Regions from separate parts of the Homo sapiens genome. Here region 2 is linked to region 1. Evidence: promoter capture Hi-C in human tissues and cell types (Jung and others, 2019). All regions are on one chromosome and are shown on one strand. The core of a region is centred on a gene start or on the middle of the fragment in contact, and the rest is flanking DNA. Distances in the headings are between cores, read along the strand shown. Region 1 holds the start of SERINC5 (serine incorporator 5). Region 2 overlaps ARSB (arylsulfatase B).

What was found. Contacts are between HindIII fragments. The study calls those that stand out against the background at their distance.
Region 2: a fragment that was not itself captured here is called in contact with the fragment with the promoter of SERINC5 in region 1 in 1 of the 25 tissues and cell types used here (lymphoblastoid cells).

The regions. Positions count from the first base shown.
Region 1 is chr5:80,252,907-80,260,678 of GRCh38, forward strand. It overlaps SERINC5 (serine incorporator 5), which reads right to left and starts at 3,142. Exons shown (of 12, transcript NM_001174072.3): 1 at 2,990-3,142. The coding sequence starts at 3,016. RefSeq lists silencers at 2,625-2,904, 3,015-3,454, 7,544-7,772 and enhancers at 3,308-4,241, 4,242-5,175, 5,176-6,107. The HindIII fragment of the contact is 12,197 bases long and covers 1-4,706 here.
Region 2 is chr5:78,981,101-78,984,571 of GRCh38, forward strand. The region is part of intron 1 of ARSB (arylsulfatase B); the gene reads right to left. Among named protein-coding and RNA genes, the nearest start is that of ARSB, 2.5 kb to the right of the region's middle. The HindIII fragment of the contact is 4,034 bases long and covers 1-3,471 here.

The sequences.
Region 1 (7,772 bases), core at 1,892-4,391:
GTCACCAAAATGTCTCTCTCCGACCTCAAACTTCTCCCGACCTAAATACCTAATTGGTGACTTGCCATTTCCATTAAATTTATAATAGGCATCTCTAATGTAACGAAGCCAAGAAACTTGGGTTTTCCTCACCAAATGTCCTCTTCCTAACAATTTCCTACTTCACCTCAGTAATGCGATCATCATCTACCCAGTGGCTCAGGCCAGAAACCGAGCCTGTCTCATTCCCACATCCCACTTCTAATCCTTGCTCAAATCCAGTTCTACCTCTGAAATATACCCAAAGCCAATGATGTCCCACTGTACTCACTCCTACAGCCATAGCCTAAATTAAGGTACCACGCTGTCTCCTCCTGGGACTACAGCAACAGCAGATTGCCAGGATTCGAGCTCCATCAGGAAAGGATTTTTGTTCACTGCCGAAGCCTAGAACACTGCTTGCCCCTAAGAGGCAAATATCCACTTAGGTTTTCCTCACCAACTGCTTCATGACCAACTCGAACTGCTTTCCTCACCTCCACTCTAGCCCGTTACAGTCCAGTCTTCACGACATCCCAATTATCTTCTAAGTGCAAATCAAACCACAGCTCGCCCCTGCTCAGAATCCTCCCACAGCCTCTCACTGCAACCAGAATTAAATCCAAAGTCCAAAGGCAGCTGACAGGTTCTGGCCATTTCTGGTCCTGCTCTTCTCTCTGACCTCATCTAAGACACCCCAGCCACCCTAGACTCCCTTGCCTCTCCTCACTGAGCAGTCTCAACTCCACAGGCATCTTCTCAGACTCCCTCGGCAACCCTCCTCAAGGCTGCTTACCACACGGCCTTCTGACAGTACCAGTACCATATTCATTGTTTCATTGTTTACATGTTTATGAATGATCTCCCCTGCCCAGATAGGCCATTGAGAGCAGAGATGCTTGTCTGACTTATGACTATATAGCAGGCTCCTGGCAAAAGGCAGGTGCCCACAGAAACAAACAAGAATTGGTAACTTCTGACGGTGCTGTGAGGTTTTGTTTGCTTTCCTTTCTTTTGAGATGGAGTTTTGCTCTTTTTGCTCATTGCCCAGGCTTGAGTGCAATGGCGTGATCTCAGCTCACCACAACCTCTGCCTCTGGGTTCAAGCGATTCTCCTGCCTTAGCTGTGTAGCTGGGATTACAGGCATGCGTCATCACACCCGGCAATTTTGTGTTTTTAGTAGAGATGAGGTTTCTCCACGTTGGTCAGGCTGGTCTCCAACTCCTGATCTCAGGTGATCCGCCCGCCTCTGCCTCCCAAAGTGCTGGGATTACAGGCATGAGCCACTGCGCCCAGCCTGTTTGCTTTTCTTTTAACTTCCTACCGCCCCATCCACAGGAAATCACAGTGTGATCACCATCACACAGCACTGAGGCCCACCACAGTGATGCCTCCAGCAGGCCTGGGAAAGCAGGGGTTAACTTTGATTTGGTTCTTTCCAAAGTCCTAAGAGGGGAGACTTTAGAAACCTGCTAAAACATCAACAGCAAAATAATTCTTTTACAAAACCCATTTGAATACTGGTAATTACAGAGCTCTAAATTAGGAACTTGGGAATGGCAGAAAGAGCCTCAAGGGGACTTCAAGGGACCAGGACAGATGCCCCTAAAGAGCTGTATCATTACTACGTAATAAAAAGTGTCGCATCATATTGGAGAAAAAGTATTTCAAAACGGGAATAAAAGATTTGCAGAGCTTTCTGAAAACAGTCTTTCCTGGTCCACCTTGTTCTCAAATACCTGGTAAGGTGGTGACCATTCTCATTCTCTTTCTCTCTCTGCCTGACACAGGGAAAAAAAATCATTTCGTCTCAGTCGTCAAAAGCCTCAATTTCCTCAACTCTGAAAAGGCCAGCTTTAATGTATGCCAAGCACAGTATTAGACCTCAAAAACCAAGACAGCTCCACGTGGCCACTCTAAACAGGACAGATTATCTGCCAGTATAATCGCCGGTTACAGAAACCCACAGTTTAACCACTCCATCACTTACAGCTGGCCTCGATTGTGGAAAGGCTGAGTGTCAGCAAGAACACCCCGAACCAGGATGCTCCCTAGAGTCTGATTCGTTCGTGAAAACACTCCATTAAAACTCTGTACCGAAACGCTGATAATCCACATGTAAAGGGAGAAAAGAGCTCCACATCCAAGAGACTCACCTACTTCGTTTTTTCTAACTCTGCAGGAAGGAGTGAAACCAGCATTACAGGGCTAAGACGTACTAATTCTACACTGATGCAGTAACTGGTAGGAGACATAATGTTTTAAGACATCATAGGTTTAAATAGGCGAGAGTTAAAAAACAGGTTCGAACAAGTTTATTTGCAAAGAGAGGCAGGAAGGTTCCAGCCCTACCCAGGCAGTCGTGCTAGTACCGAGCCAGGGTTGGGTCGGGAAATTCAGGAAGCAGGGCTGAGTTTTCCCTTCGCCCAGACCTGCGCCCGGTAGTTTGGAAGTCAGGCTTCGAGACATTCTCAAAGGTACAGAGCCCACGCTCGACTACGAGATGCCAAGCGCAACCTGCCTGGGTTGTTTGACCCGAGTTTTATTCAGGGCATAGCAAAGGAGACGGTGCCTAAACCCACTTTTCTTCCTGGATTCATCCGACAAGCAGAGTGGAGAGGGCTACGGAGCTCAGCGCTATTCACCAGTGCTCGGCGCAAGAGGCGACACGCCCCTGGAGCAGTCGGGATCCTCCGCCCGAGCCCGGCACGCCCCGCTCCACGCGGAGTCCCGGAGGCCGGACGGGAAGACCCCGGGGTAGCCTCTCGGGCTTCCCCCTGCCCCTTCCCGCCCGCCCAGGGCACAGGATTTCCCGGACGGCTGAGCGCCGCGGGGCCAGCCCGAGCGACCCACCCGGGCCCTACGTTCGGCCGCGGAGCTGGGAGCGCACCCAGGCAGGTCCTCCACGCCTGGACTCCTGGCCCGGTTCTCCGATCTGACAACCCCCGCGCTGCGCCCGGCCTCGCTCACCTGGCCCGCACAGCACTGAGCTGACATCGCGGCGGCCAATGCCGAAGGCGCGCTCGCTGGCTCCCCGCGCCGCACGGGCCCTCCTGGCTGCCTCGCGCCTCGAGCGCTGGGCTCAGCCGCAGCTCACACTTGAACGAAGATCAGCCTCGGCGAAGCGCCTAGGCGCCGAGGCCTGGGTAAAAACAACTGCGGCCAAGCCCCGCCCCGCCGCCGGCCCCGCCTCGCCCGCCCCCAGCCCCGCCCCGTGCCCGCCCCTTCCCGGGCGCCCGGCGGCGGAGCAGGCTCGACCCGGGCTCGCACTTCCGCTGGCGTCAGGCGGGTGGGCTGCTGCGATCACTTCCCGGTTGGGGCGCCGAGCTCCGGAGTCGGCCGCCAGCCTTTGGGCCCCACGCTCCGGGTCTGGTGCGCGGTCTGGCCGCGCTCGGGCCCTCGCCAAATGAGAGCGCAGCGCCTCTCCGCCTTCGGATCCAGAGAAAGAGCTTGTTGCTGCCTCTAAAAGGTTGGAGCCTTAGTAAGCGGTTCCTGCCTTTCCTGCACAGACCAGACCGCCGGGTGCTGGTCTGCGCTCTGCCGCGCGCCGACTGGGACAGCCCACCCACGAGATCCTTGTTCCTGAAATCCCTTTCCTTCCCTCATCTGCCAAGAAAACTTTCAACTTTTGGGCTCTCCGCGCCTCCCAAGCTTCCTCGAATCCCTGGGCCCTTGACTGTTCTGCCCTGATGGCACTTGGTGAGAGATCCATTGAGAGCCCTTTCCGTGCCTTCCTGAATATTGATATGTTTTCCAGCCTCTCCTCCTGCGCTGGCCCAAGGACTCATTTTCCGTCCCTGCTTCCTCACTAAAAAGAGGGTGCCCAATAATTGCTTGTTCCATACAGAAGGCAGGGAGGCCGTCTCTAGGTTTTCTCCCACTCAGATCTGCTGTCCTCACAGCCACCTCCCCAAGAGGAATGAAGGTATTTCTTTTTTTTTTTTCTTTTTTTTCTCTGAGACGGAGCTTCACTCTGTCGCCCAGGCTGGAGTGCAGTGACGCGATCTCGGCTCACTGCAACCTCTGCCTCCCGAGTAGCTGGGATTACAGGCGCCTGCCACCACGCCCGGCTAATTTTTTGTATTTTTAGTAGAGACGGGGTTTCACCATCTTGGCCAGGCTGGTCTCGAACTCCTGACCTCAGGTGATCCGCCCGCCTCGGCCTCCCAAAGTGCTGGGATTACAGGCGTGAGCCACCGCGCCCTGCCGGAATGAAGATATTTCTGTTAGTGCGATTTTTGCGCCAATCCCTTTGCTCTTTCAAATAAGCATTACCGTACCCATTTTAGCGGTGAGGCAACTGAAGCCCAGAGAGGTTAAATAACTTGCCCAAAGCCTCACAGCAAAGTTGAGGAAGTAAAACTGGGCCTGGAATCCACTCGTCTGATCCCCTGGCACATGACGCAAGGCTTGACCTTAGAGGGACTCGTTTCCAGACAGAGCTCTGGCAAAGGAGTGTCTTGGGCAGCTTAGGAGTAGAAGAGGAAAGGTGAATGGAAACCAGGCCTTGGGTTATGAGCTGCGCAGGATTTTCCAGCATCTCAGATGCAGGCGTTTAGAGAAAGAGATATAATGGAGCAGGCCCTACTCAGAGCCACGAAAAGGAATGAGGACAGTTGGCTCTAACTCAAAACAAAAATAGGGTAAACCCAATCAGTCAAGCGCAGCAACCTGCTCCGTGGCGATCTGTGACTCATCAGAAGCTGAGGCTCTCACCAGGACTTTCTAATGAGCTTCGCTGTTGGCTACGACCGCGGTCACTTCACTTCAGCCCTACTCCTGGCCTGGGGAAATGGGCAGGCCCCCTAGTAGCTCGGGGTGGGGAGACGGGTGGAGAGGAAGGAGGGGCGAAAAGGGAAGGCGCGAAATCTACAAATGTTTAAGCCAGCTGGAACTCCGATGCCTCTTTGCCTTTTAGGGAAATTGACTCGACTCGGAACTCGAGGACCTTTCACAAGAGACCACTGGGTTAGGGGGCAGAGCTGGTAATAGAATCCAGCGCTCCGAACCCTGAATCATGTCCTCTTTTTGCTGCTGAGGCTCAGGCCACAGCACCCCAAATTATGACTGTAGAATACCAAAATATGCTATCCCAAAATACACTTGTTTGGCACATTTCAAGCTGGTTATTCTGAGAAACTGCAGACACGGGAGTAGCTCTGAAAAGCTGTCCTTTTGTAAAGCAAATTTACATCTATAAAGGAAGTCCACATAGTAAAAGTATCTGTGTCAGGAAGGCAGCTGCTCAGAGAACTTTTATTACATGAGAGACTTTACATAACAAGGCAACTTTTTTTTTTTTTTTTTTTTTTTTTTTTGAGGCAGAGTCTCGCTCAGTCGCCCAGGCTGGAGTGCATTGGCATGATCCCGGCTCACTGCAACCTCCGCCCCCCGGGTTCAAGCGATTCTCCGGCCTCAGCCTCTGAAGTAGCCGGGATTACAGGCGCGCGCCACCGCGCCCGGGTAATTTTTGTATTTTTAGTAGAGACGGGGTTTCACCATGTTGGTCAGGCTGGTCTCGAACTCCTGACCTCGTGATCCGCCCACCTCGGCCTCCCAAAGTGCTGGGATTACAGGTGTGAGCCACCGCGCGCAGCCACAAGGCAACATTATTTACCATACATTTCCTCCACTAACCCTCCTATATCCTACCTGTGGTGCCTCCCCACTGTCCCCACAGAAGCCCCAAGCCCTTATTTATTTCTAGCTCAGAATGCTATAAGCTTCAATCATCTGGCCCTTCATGTTTTGTGAGATTCCTGTGCTGCTGCGTATGCAGGTAATTAAAACGGTTTTTCTTCTGTTAATCTGTCTTATGTCGGCCAGGCGTGGTGGCTCATGCCTGTAATCCCAGCACTTTGGGAGGCCGAGGTGGGCGGATCACGAGGTCAGGAGTTTGAGACCAGCCTGACCAACATGGTGCAACCCCATCTCTACTAAAAATACAAAAGAAGTAGCCGGGCGAGGTGGTGCGCACCTGTAATCCCAGTTACTCAGAAGCTGAGGCAGGAGAATCGCTTGAACCCAGGAGGCGGAAGTTGCAGTTAGCCGAGATTGTGCCACAGCACTCCAGCCTGGGCGACAGAGCAAGATACCGTCTCAAAAAAAAAAAAAAAAATCTCTGTTATGTCAATTTAATTTGCAATCCAAGTAAAGAACCTAGAAGGGTAGAGGGAAGCCATTTTTCCCTCCCCTACATTGCTAGTTCCATGCCAATGTGAGAGGACTCTGAGAATGTGGATGTCTGCCACCTGGAGAAAGAGTCTTAATAACCTGGGCACTTGGCCAGGCACGGTGGCTCACACCTGTCATCCCAGCATTTTCAGAGGCAAAGGTGGGTGGATCACCTGTGGTTAGGAGTTCAAGACCAGCCTGGCCAACATGGCGAAACCCTGTCTCTACTAAAAATACAAAAATTAGCCAGGCAGGGTGGTGGGCACCTGTAATTTCAGCTACTCAGGAGGCTGAGGCAGGAGAATCACTTGAACCCAGGAGGCGGAGGTTGCAGTTAGCCTAGATGGTGCCATTGCACCCCAGCCTGGGCAACAAGAGCAAAATTCTATCTCAATAGATAAATAAATAAATAACCTGGGGACTTGTAGCCTCTATTGAAAGGTACCAGAAAAGGATAAAGCCTGAGTTTTCAAGCCAGGAAGTTGCAAATTCTAACTCTACCAAGAAGTAGCTGGGTGACCTCCAAGCCTCAGTTTCCTCATCTTCAAAACCAGGTTAATAGTGTCAGAGGCATTTGAACCAGAGAGACTCCATCTTGAATAGGGACTGGGTAAAATAAGGCTGTGACCTGCTGGGCTGTATTCCCAGGAAGTTAAGGCATTCTTCGAGGATGAGATGGTGGGGGTCAGCACAAGATACAGGTCACAAAGACCTTGCTGGTAAAATAGGATGTAGTAAAGGAGCCGGCCAAAACCCATCAAAATCAAGATGGCGACCAAAGTGAGCTCTGGTCGTGCCCACTGCTCATTATACACTAATTATAATTCATTAGCATGCTAAAAGACACTCCCACCAGCACCAGGACAGTTTACAAACATCAGGAAGTTACCCTATATGGTCTAAAGGAGGAGGAACCCTCAGTTCTGGGAATTGCCCATCCCTTTCGCGGAAAACTCATGAATAATCCACCCCTTGTTTAGCATATAATCAAGAAATAACTATAATTAGTTGAGCAGCCCATGCTGCAGCTCTGCCTATGGAGTAGCCATTCTTTACCTCCTTTACTTCTCTAATAAATTTGATTTCACTTTATGGACTTGCCCCAAATTCTTTCTTGCGTGAGGTTCAAGAACCCTCTCTTGTGGACTGGATGAGGACCCCACTCTGGTAACAATATACTTTTTGTCCAGTCACATTTCTACATGGCTGTCCATACTCTGTTGAATGTAAGCATAAGAATGGACAATTTTGCTGTATCTTTGGATCTTCATTCTGAAGGCTCCCATGGCATGTAAAACTATGATCAAATAAATTTGTATGCCTTTTTTCCTTTTAATCTGCCTTGTCGGTTGATTTTCAGTGAAACTTCAGAGGGTAAAGGGGAAGTTTGCCCTTCACCCCTACATGGTCAAGCTCAAGATACCAAAAGACATCAGCTGAAAATTCAATCAACTTGCCTGAATCATCCACCCCAAGCTTAGGAAGCATGCTTGAACCCACCTGGCCAAGGCTGGTTTTGCCGGCCAAAGTCCAAGGCCAAGGCTCCAACCAAAGCCCAGACTTCAGTTGCAGCTCCAGT
Region 2 (3,471 bases), core at 646-3,145, 1.3 Mb before region 1:
CCACTACGCCCGGCTAATTTTTTGTATTTTTAGTAGAGACGGGGTTTCACCGTTTTAGCCGGGATGGTCTCGATCTCCTGACCTCGTGATCCGCCCGCCTCGGCCTCCCAAAGTGCTGGGATTACAGGCGTGAGCCACCGCGCCCGGCCGAATTTCTAGTTCTTGAATTTACCAGTAACTACTTACCCCATCTGCTAATTAGTCTCCTCCATTGCCTCCAACCTGTACCCAGTCCCTACACATATTTCACCATAGCATGCACATTTAAAATAGTTCATTTGTGAGGGCTGTGAACAATTAAATGTCTCACTATAAAAGGCTGAATTAAGTAAGTTCCTAGCAGCAGAACAAGTAGTACACGCAATTTGTAAGATACACTGTGTTGGGCAAGATTAATCTTTCTACCAGTAGATGGGGTTAGTATGATAGGTATGATAATGTGCATTTGCCAAGTTAGAAACTCGCCCTAATGGACACAAGAGCCTTAGAGTTAAATTAATTTAGAGCTAGACAAAGTCTAGAGTTCAGCCCAACTCCTCTGTTTCACAGATGTGGAAATGATGGCCAGCGAGGTCACAGTCTGACCAGCCAAGACCAAAACCTACATCTCAGTTCCTAACCAGTCCTCTTTACTCAATAAATAATTTCTGAAACCAAAAAAACTAAAACTCAGGATTTCATGAGAGTATAAAGTCCAGTCAGTCTAGGCTTGTTTATCAACTTGTGCTTTTCTTTTCTAAAGTTAAATAATTATGGGAAAGGGGTCTGTAAATATTAACTTAAAGCATGACTGCCAAGTTCATAGATATGACTCTTTTTTTTTTTTTTTTTTTTGAGACGGAGTCTCGCTCTGTCGCCCAGGCCGGACTGCGGACTGCAGTGGCGCAATCTCGGCTCACTGCAAGCTCCGCTTCCCGGGTTCACGCCATTCTCCTGCCTCAGCCTCCCGAGTAGCTGGGACTACAGGCGCCCGCCACCGCGCCCAGCTAATTTTTTGTATTTTTAGTAGAGACGGGGTTTCACCTTGTTAGCCAGGATGGTCTCGATCTCCTGACCTCATGATCCACCCGCCTCGGCCTCCCAAAGTGCTGGGATTACAGGCGTGAGCCACCGCGCCCGGCCAGATATGACTCTTAACAACTTCCTTCAAGTAACTCATTTTGAGACAGTCAAAAAATTCCTTCATTTTATTGTCTAAAATTATGCATAACAAATGACTCAGAAATAAAATCTATTTTTATTTTACATGGAATATAGGCAATTCCTAACTCAGAAATATGATGGGTTGATTCTTTACCTTGAGATATTTAGGAATGACCCAAATGTCCAAAAGTAATACAGGGATTATTTAGTATGTATGAAGCAGTCCTTGGGATGTTATTTTTAATAATTTTGAGTAGGCAATATGGCTTAGTGGTTATAGGCATCAACCCTAGGGCCACGTGCCCTGGGTCAAATCCTGGTCCAACATATACTAGCCCTGTAACCTTGGGCAAGTTTCTTAACCTCTTCCAGCATCAGTTTCCTTGTTACAGAACAGAGATGATAGAGTTGTTGTGAGAATCAAATGAGTTAACACTTGTAAGTGCTCAGAACAATACCAGCATATAGTATCTGACGGAGACTCCTGAGCCTTCCCTGAAATTTCTACTTCATTAAAAGTGGACACTTGCTCACCCTGGGTAACATCTACTTGGGTCTCATGAACTCTAAGAGAATAAAGTGGGTGAGAAAACTGGAGGAAAAAAAATGTTTGGGGAAGCAAGGCTGCTTTAGAATCAGCTACACTGAGAGGCCTCTAAACCTTTCAGAGTGCCCAGCTTCTCTACTCATCCTTTACTTCATAACCATGGGGTACTCTAAATACTAAAGTTTGTTCTCCAAGACATAATTTTGGTGACTGGTGGGGGAGGATGTTAGGGGACAAAAGCAACTGATTACGGGAATGGGTTTTTTATTTTATTTTGTTTTGAGATGGAGTCTTGCTCTGTCGCCCAGGCTGGAGTGCAGTGGTGCGATCTCGGCTCACTGCAACCTCTGCCTCCCGAGTTCAAGCGATTCTCCTGACTCAGTCTCCCGAGTAGCTAGGACTATAGACGCATGCCACCACACTCGGCTAATTTTTGTAGTTTTAGTAGAGACGGGGTTTCGCCGTGTTGGTCAGGCTGGTCTCGAACTCCTGACCTCAGGTGATCCACCTGCCTCAGCCTCCAAAGTGCTGGGATTACAGGCGTGAGCCACCGTTCCCGGCCCAGGAATGGGTTTCTGAAGTTGGTATTTGCTTTCCTGTCCAACTCTGTTGGAAGGGAGGAAGTTGGAGAAATGAATGGCCCTTCCATTCTTTTGCAATCTGAGTTCAGTTCTCTTACTTCAAAGCAAATGCAGAACCCTTTGGGCAAACCTCACCTTTCCCTTCTTCTTCTTCTTTACTGGCACATCCCTTTACTCCCACAAAGTGTCCAGGGTGAGATTTACACAATGTAGGGGATTCCTAATTACACGTAGCAGCCAAGGTCAGAACCGCCAAAAGTACTAAGGTGGATGGTGAAGGGAAGCATCCTTTACTCCCATTTCTAACCTTGGCTACAGCTATTTCTCACCCTTAGCAACACCCAATCTTTCCTCTTTATAAAAGCCTTCAGACCACTGCGCATATCTTTATCACAAGTAAGCCCTCCCTTCTCTTGATCTTAGGACCACGTGAGGCTAGGGTTGATCTGACAGGTTATGCGAACACACACTTGGGAGGGCAACATTCAAATATATATCCCCTGTCAGTAGCACAGTAAGCTCAAAATATTTTTGTTGAGTAAACAGCATATGTACTCTGTGAAGGCATGCAGGTGGTATCCAACAGTTCCCATTTACTGTATTTAATATGGTCATAATAACTTCAGGGTCTTAGAAATATGACAATCGTATTCAGATTGAGGGGAAAAAAGGCCAATTTCATAAGCCCGGGACGACCAGTGGATGCAGGAAAAGCACAACGGACACTGCCTTGACCACTTTCTAGCTGTGCGATTCTTATGCCAACGAGCCTTTACAGGCTTCCTGCCTCGTCTGTAAAACGGGGTAAAAACAACTACCTCATGCACTGTTTCAATAATTCACTTTAAAAACAACAAAGTGCTATGCAAATGTTCTTGATATTCTTAGCCATCTAACATCTATGCACGCTCTACATTTATATTTCCTTCGTTAACTGTGGAGCCGTTCCTAAAGGGAAGCTTTTAAAGCGATAATGAAGATGCTCAGAAGAGTTCAATACAAGGTTACATGTGAAAGGAATGTCAGCAGCCTAAGAAAAATCAACCTAGCATCAGGTTTCATTCCAGGGGTGTTGAGAACCTGGAAAAAAATAATCTTTGGTGGGACACTCCTAACCTATCACCGCTGGGTTCCCACGGGCCAGGGTCGCACCCACGGCGAGCACCCCTTCATTTTACCTCTCCCCTCGTCTTTGCTCCC